Regions from separate parts of the Homo sapiens genome. Here region 1 is linked to region 2. Evidence: promoter capture Hi-C in human tissues and cell types (Jung and others, 2019). All regions are on one chromosome and are shown on one strand. Each heading gives the region's core, a stretch centred on a gene start or on the middle of the fragment in contact. The rest is flanking DNA. Distances are from core to core; before and after follow the strand shown.

Region 1 (3,627 bases), core at 1,053-3,552, 500 kb before region 2:
ACCTCTTTAAGATAGTCAAGGAAATAAAAAATAAAAAGGGTATGGCTTATTTTTCTAAGTAATTCAGATTTATGAAAGCCCAAGCTCTTATTGCAGTTATGCCACCCACTTCTAGAAATTAAGTTTATTCTTTTTCTTACTTGCTTTCAGGAGTAGAAGCTAGAAAAGTATTCAAGTATGCAAGTATTGATCATAGATATGTTGGGAAAGAAAATGAAATAATGGATTTATTGAATAATTCTGCACTATTTTATTAAAAACTAAGAGGCACTTCTATAGTGCTATACAGAATTTAAAGTAGTTTTTTTACACAGTATCACATTTGAATTCTCATAAAAATCAGTTATAATCTTTCCAAATTTGTGCCTCTGTTAAAGTAGTATATACAGTTATTTATGGTATGCATATTGACTAGCCTCATTTTTTTTTTTTTTAAATTGTAGTTTAAGTTCTGGGCTACATGTGCAGAATGTGCAGGCTTGTTACATAGGTATACATGTGCCATGATGGTTTGCTGCGCCCATCAACCCGTCATCTACATTAGGTATTTCTCCCAGTGCTATCCCTCTCCCCCAGACCCCCTCAAGGACCTAGAACTAGAAATACCATTTGACCCAGCCATCCCATTACTGGGCATATACCCAAAGGATTGGCCTCATTCTTGGCTTCCTTTTATGTATTGATTTATAAATTCTTTATTCTTTTTCCCTCTAAATTGTATTATCTTCTCTAATTGTGTGTTCTTAAAAGTTTGCTTAATATTTTCATTATTAAATTAAGGAAAATATTTAATTGAAGTGTTTAGTTTTATTCCAATTAAATATAGGAAATAAAAGTGATAATGCAATTTTACATTAAAAAATCACCTAGATTTAAAATGGTTGTCTACTTTTGCCTATATGCTAATGTAACTAAGGTCTAATGTTAGACAACTAGTTTTTTCACCACAGTTTCTTCACACTTCTTTGTTCTATGAGGTTATCTTTGTTATCCTACGCACAAATTAATGCATTCTTCAAAACCAGTTTAGAGGCCGGGAGCGGTGGCTCACGCCTGTAATCCCAGCACTTTGGGAGGCCAAGGTGGTTGGATCACCTGAGTTCAGGAGTTCGGGACCAGCCTGCCCAACATGGCAAAACTCTGTCTCTACTAAAAATACAAAAACTAGCCAGGCATGGTGGCACAAGCTTGTAATCCCAGCTACTTGTGAGGCTGAGGCAGGAGAATCGCCTGAACCTGGGAGGCAGAAGTTGCAGTGAGCCAAGATCACACCATTGCACTCCAGCCTGGCAACAAGAGTGAAACTCCGTCTCAAAAAACAAAAAAACAAAAAAACAGAAAAACCCAAAAACAACAAAAAACCAATTTAGAGACTGAAAGTGTCTGTAGAAAATGTTTAATAATAATGTTGCTGGGCTTTTAGAAGCCAAAGCCTTATGGAATCTTGCCATTACAGAGATCCAAGTTCATAGCCATGTAGGAAAAACCAATGCAAAAAAAAAAAGACAACTACCATCACAAAAAAAAATTTTCTCCAGCCCACTCTTGGTTCACTTTTCCTGCCTAGGGGTTCCAGGTGTCCATACTCCCTTTTGGGCCGCTCATGCTTTCTTCTCGTCTATCTATTCCTTCCTAATGCCAGCTCCAAAAAAAAAAAAAAAAAAAGTCTCTGCTGCTATTCATACATCTTTTGTTAAACTTTAAGCAAACTTGTGGAATGAAGACTCCTTTTCAAAATTTTTCTGCTTAAATAATTCCAACTACCAGTTAGCTCTTACATTTTTAGGCAAATGCCCTTTTTTGCTATTTCTGAAATCATTTTTCTATTTTTTGAATGTCTGACAGACTTGAATTCATCAACCTTCAGATTTGTAAAGCCTGAGTCCCCTACATTAAAGAAGATCACATCATCAGTAACCCAAAAGATTGAGCCAATGATTTCCAGAGTAAAGGAGAGCCATGGTCATTGTTAATCTTCAGTAGTGGTCGCTGTTCCTTACAATCCCCATTTAGGAGTCCAAAGTAATAATAGTAGTGGTAGCCAACATTCTTGAGTGCAATCTGTCAGACACTAATTTATAACTTTTTCTCAATTATTACAAAGCTTTATGATTTAGTACTCTAATGACCCTCTTTTACAGAGGAGATGGCTGATTTTCAATAATTTTCTTTAGAGAAATTTGGCACTTCTGTTTACAGTAATAGTTTCTATATTTAAATACATATTATATATACATATAGGTTGCTAGAGAGACTTATTAGTACTTTTTTTTAACTAAATGATTTGGGTCTATTCTTAGAATTTAGTTTCATCACCTGTAGCAGAGTATCTTTGAGGAAAAGAAATACATACCTTTCTTGCTGTTTCTATAGTTTAGTTGAAAACATCGCTTCTTTTGAAACCTCCTAAAGAAAGTGACAAACCAAATATTTTGAATCCTTAAATGATTTCATTGTGTTCAAATATTTATGGGCTGGTAGAAGAAGTTCTGAGAGAGCAAGAAACAAGAACTCAAGCGATGACTGGAAATTTTAGTTTCTGTGGGGTTTGAAGGTTCTGAAAGGCAGTAGCTGGGTTCACTGTCATTTACAAAAGCCCAGGAGAGCACAGACAAGATTTAAAGGGCCTTGGAGTTGAAAGAGAAAACAATCAAAGGGAAGGAGGAAAGTGGATGCTAAAAAAGGTTCACCTAAGTTTAGGGTGAGTTAGAGGAACCAGGACATGACCAGGGTGTAGGTTGTCAAGGAAAACATAACAGAAATCATGAAAACTTTTATCCAATTAGGAATTTACAAAGCACTTTATAATTATAATTCTTCATTAATGTGCTTTGAAGAAGTATAATTTGGCTTAAAAAAGGAATAACTGTTGATTAGATGAAGAGCAGAAGTAAGAAAATTAAGATCGGTTCTGGATTTCTGAAGTATTTTACCTATTTTTGACACTAGTTCAATTATTTTTTAATGAGTTTTACCAAAATAACTGTGGGGAGGGGTCATAAAAAGAAGGAGAAGAAATTCTTTTATACCTCAAAGTTCTAATAGTAAGTTTAAAATAATAACATATTTACCTTAAGCATATTATACGAGTTAAAGAAGAAGTTCCTGAAGTATTGTACGAAAGCAGCAGTTCCGGGAACTTGTTAGAAATGCAAACATTTGGGTCGCTCTAGAGTTCTTGAATCAGAAACTCTGGGGTGGGGCCAGGCCTTTTAACATATTTTCACAAGCTCTCCGGGTGATTTTGATGTATGCTGAAGCTTGAGAACCACTGAGTTAAGGTAACACTAGGTACTGTAGCAGACATATGCCCAGTCTCAGTAGTGTAAGACAATGAGTGTTAATATTTCTGCTTATGTAAGAGCTCAAGAATGGCATTGCTCCTTGAAAGGGTGTCCTCCCAGGATGCAGTCTCCCATTTTATGTCTGTCACATTTACCATGTGACTCCACATATCTTGGGAGCCATTTCCACTGCAGTCACCTTGAATGGAAACAATAATGTCGCTTCAACTAACATTTCTTTGGGTCACATTTAACTGCAAGTGAGGCTAGAAAATGCAGCCTAGCTTTGCGCCTAAATCCTGAGGAAGCCAATGTGATCAGCTAGCTCACTTTGCCAAGCATA
Region 2 (3,739 bases), core at 402-2,901:
GTCAATTCCAAATAAGATTTTAGTTTCTTTCAAGTTTCAGAAAACGTGTATCTAACTTTGGAACAATGTAAGTGTTGTGCTGGAACTTTGAAAAAACACCAGAGTCACCACTGTCTAAGTTCTCTGGGCAGTATCTGCTATTATTTTCAATTCTGACAGACTTGGCACTTGAGGATTGCGCAGCCTCTGGTGACACAATGTGGAAAGAAGTTAGAGACACAAAGTAACATGGCATACACAGAAAAGTGAGAAGGATCTCTCTTTTCCCCTGGCTGCTTCTATCCACCCCAATTCCCCACCCCAGTCATCAAACTATTATCTGGCACCATTAACTTAAATTCAAGTGAAAATTGTGTTCTCTAACTAAAAACATTGAGTTTGTGGACTGAATACATTATTAGCAAGGGCTTTTCAAACTTTCATTTAAGTTTCATTATCAAGAGCTCTAAAATTGATCACTGATCTTAAGATTATCAACATACCTTTATTTTCTGAAGTTGTGAGAGGAATATAATAATCTTGTTTTCTTTTTAGTATAAGAAGAGATAGATGGGCGGAAGGATATCTGAGTAACCATTTTCTGGGAGATATTTTAAAGATAAGTGATGCTGGTTATTAAAATATAAATTACAAAATTGTTTGGCTGAACTAGATTGCAATAGGTTGTTCAGCAATGGGATTGGAAATAACAGAGACCATTGATAGTCATGGTGTAAAATAAGTGAGAAAGTACGAGGACATTATTATTTAGCTTTTGGATTTGGAATGTTAAAGAATAAGAATACCCCAATATTATTAGACTATCAGTGGTTGAAAGTTGAATGGAGGAGCTGTGAATTATGCATTGTTTCTCTTGCAGAACCCAGAGATCCTAATGTGAGATGGTGAGGGAGGGGGATATGTATTATTAAGAAATTTAGGTTTGATCTGTATTACTTTTACAACACAGAACGAGAAAAGAATGTAGACCTCCGGCTGGGGTTAGACTTGCTCCCTTCCGTAAGATGATGAAGGTCAACTTCCCTGTTTGAAAAAAAACAAAGTATGCTCTATGTGCGCGGAAAATCACTGTGCCAGATCTAGTAAAAAGCCACGATACCATTGGGTGTGGAAATGCAGAGACCCTCTGATTCAGGCTGTGTATTAGTGTCTTTCTGAATCACAAAGAACTCATGGAGAGTTATGATCACATTGAACACAGTAAAGGAATAACTATAATCATTTTTTTCAATTATACAAACATGATTGACTTTTTAACGAAAGACTGCTATTCTTTCAAAACACACGTTTCTCTCGCATTTCAGTTCCTTTTGCACTCACATTGCCATATGATACTCCTATCAAGGCTGTGATTTCTTCGGTGAATTAAGCAACAGAGCATGGATAGCAAACAATAAAACAGCTACTTTTCATGCAACACAAAAGAGGGAGCATTTTTCTCAGCACCGCGGCCTCATCACATCTTCTGTGTTTCCTGTCCCATGGGCGACGCCCCCACTCCCACCCGGTCTCCTTCCCGAGCAGCTCTGGGCTGCAGAGCCAGCTGCGTGCCATCCCGCTCTGCTTCAGCGCACGCTGAAGACGGCACTAGGACCCAGGGAAGTCCCCGAGCGGGGTTCGCGGAAAGGCAGCCAGACTCCTCCTTATCTCCAGTGTCAAACTTGACATCAGCCTGCGAGCGGAGCATGGTAACTTCTCCAGCAATCAGAGCGCTCCCCCTCACATCAGTGGCATGCTTCATGGAGATATGCTCCTCTCACTGCCCTCTGCACCAGCAACATGGATTGTCAGCTCTCCATCCTCCTCCTTCTCAGCTGCTCTGTTCTCGACAGCTTCGGGGAACTGATTCCGCAGCCTTCCAATGAAGGTAAGCCAGGTACCGCGACGCACGGAGCTCTGCCCCGCGGGGCTCACGCTCTTCAAAGCACGTTCTCACCGAAGCCTTGCACGTCGGGAAGGTGCCTCCGAATAGAGCAGTTTGCTCTGAGAGTGAAGGAAAGATGTGCCTTTTTTTTTTCCAACTGTCTTCTAAAACACTTCAGGAGATAATTTTAGATGGTCTAAACTTTGAAAATGTGTTTTTAATCTGACACCATTTCGAGCAATTACCTTGTTTGCCAATTTGAGCAGAAAGAAAGAAAGAAAATCCTCCAGCGTTGCAACCCAGTTATGTTAATTGCCAAATAGCCAAGGCAGTATTTTATTTTCTAATTATGACCATGTGGTACTCCGAGAAGTTTGAAAGAAAATTCAGCCTTCCTCTCTAGACTCTTTAGTATGTTTAAAGGTAATGACAGGTTGTTCCTACTTGGGATCATGGCATTTATGAATGGACTAAAGGGAAATCAGAGTTTGTCGAAGCGGAGGTGCGTGTTTATGGTGCAAGGGCTGTGTTGAAGTTGTGTGTATCCCGCCAGGCAATGGTTTGCTCTATGGTACAGGTTCTAAAGAGCAGCATATGCCACATTAACGTAAGTAATATTTGCAAGAATTACAATAAGCTTAGGTTGGATTCTCTTTGTTTAAAGGCTTATATACAAATAGGAGAATGTATTTAATGAATAGTGGATAGCTCCTGGGAAGATATAGTAAATAACTGAATAGTAGATTAAGAGAGAATGTTCATATGCAGCAAATGGCATTTCCTTGATGTTGTGTTATTTATTATCCTTGTAATGAGCATTAATTCCTTTTCAGTGGGTTAAAGTGCAAACCTAATGTTAAGGACACCAATGTGTTCTATAAGATTGTGTACTTAATACATACATTTTCTTTCTCCTGTATTCCTTTTGTGATCTATTCTTGTGAATACAGTCACTAACTCGTAAAACAAACTTCTCTAAATAATTGATTAGTGTAAAGCCACACTTACAACATTAATTTCCTCTTAGTGATTTTGAACTTATAACAGTAACATTTAGCAATTTATTTTGCAAGTTAACAATACCGAGCAACTGATGTGCAAACATCATGTTATATACATCACTCCTTAGAAAATATATTGTCAAGCCAATACTGTTGTATATGTACCTTAATTTTAAAAACACGAGTAAAAACAAAATACTTAGAAAGTTTTTTATTAAATGTAATAACTGCCTGATACTCGGTGACCTACTTTCACTGCTAATAGAGCAGTAATTTATCTCCTTCCTTACTGACTGCCTTTATCAATTTGGCAGTTTTCATTAAATGTTCTGAATCTTTTTTCTAAATAAGAAAATGAAAATTCTAAAATATAAGGATCAAGAAAATTATCTTACCCACAAATGACTTTTTATTTTACAAACCAAATTAAAATGTTTATTTGAAAGTAAGAGTCAATCATTCTTCCTGAATGAAAGGTAAGAGTATTCATTTGTATAACGGGTAACATGTATAATAGGTAACATATCAATAAATTAAACTTAATGTTTTAAAAATTTTTGTTCTTTGCAGATATTAAAATATTGACAATAACTAGAAAAATAGTATTAAAATTCCCACATTGTCATGATAAATTATATTTTCCAGATAGAATGGTTATGAACTATGTAGATATGGATATTACTGAATTAATTATGCACAAGAATGTAGCTGTTAGTCAGTATTTTTGTGGAAAACAACCTTTAAGTAAACTGCAAGAGAAAAAAAAAGACACCAAACTATTTCACACCTATGTAAAATTAATCAGTATTAATTTAATGAAACAGAGTTAATCAAATACAAATTGCTTTTAAGCCTCACCTCATGTATGTTTGGG

Evidence for each region. Contacts are between HindIII fragments. The study calls those that stand out against the background at their distance.
Region 1: a contact is called between a fragment that was not itself captured here and the fragment with the promoter of EPHA3 in region 2, in 1 of the 25 tissues and cell types used here (dorsolateral prefrontal cortex).

The regions. Positions count from the first base shown.
Region 1 is chr3:88,607,795-88,611,421 of GRCh38, forward strand. No RefSeq gene overlaps it. Among named protein-coding and RNA genes, the nearest start is that of CSNK2A2IP, 270 kb to the left of the region's middle. The HindIII fragment of the contact is 4,868 bases long and covers 1-3,627 here.
Region 2 is chr3:89,105,970-89,109,708 of GRCh38, forward strand. It overlaps EPHA3 (EPH receptor A3), which reads left to right and starts at 1,652. Exons shown (of 17, transcript NM_005233.6): 1 at 1,652-1,867. The coding sequence starts at 1,780. RefSeq lists an enhancer at 1,494-1,633. The HindIII fragment of the contact is 4,313 bases long and covers 1-3,217 here.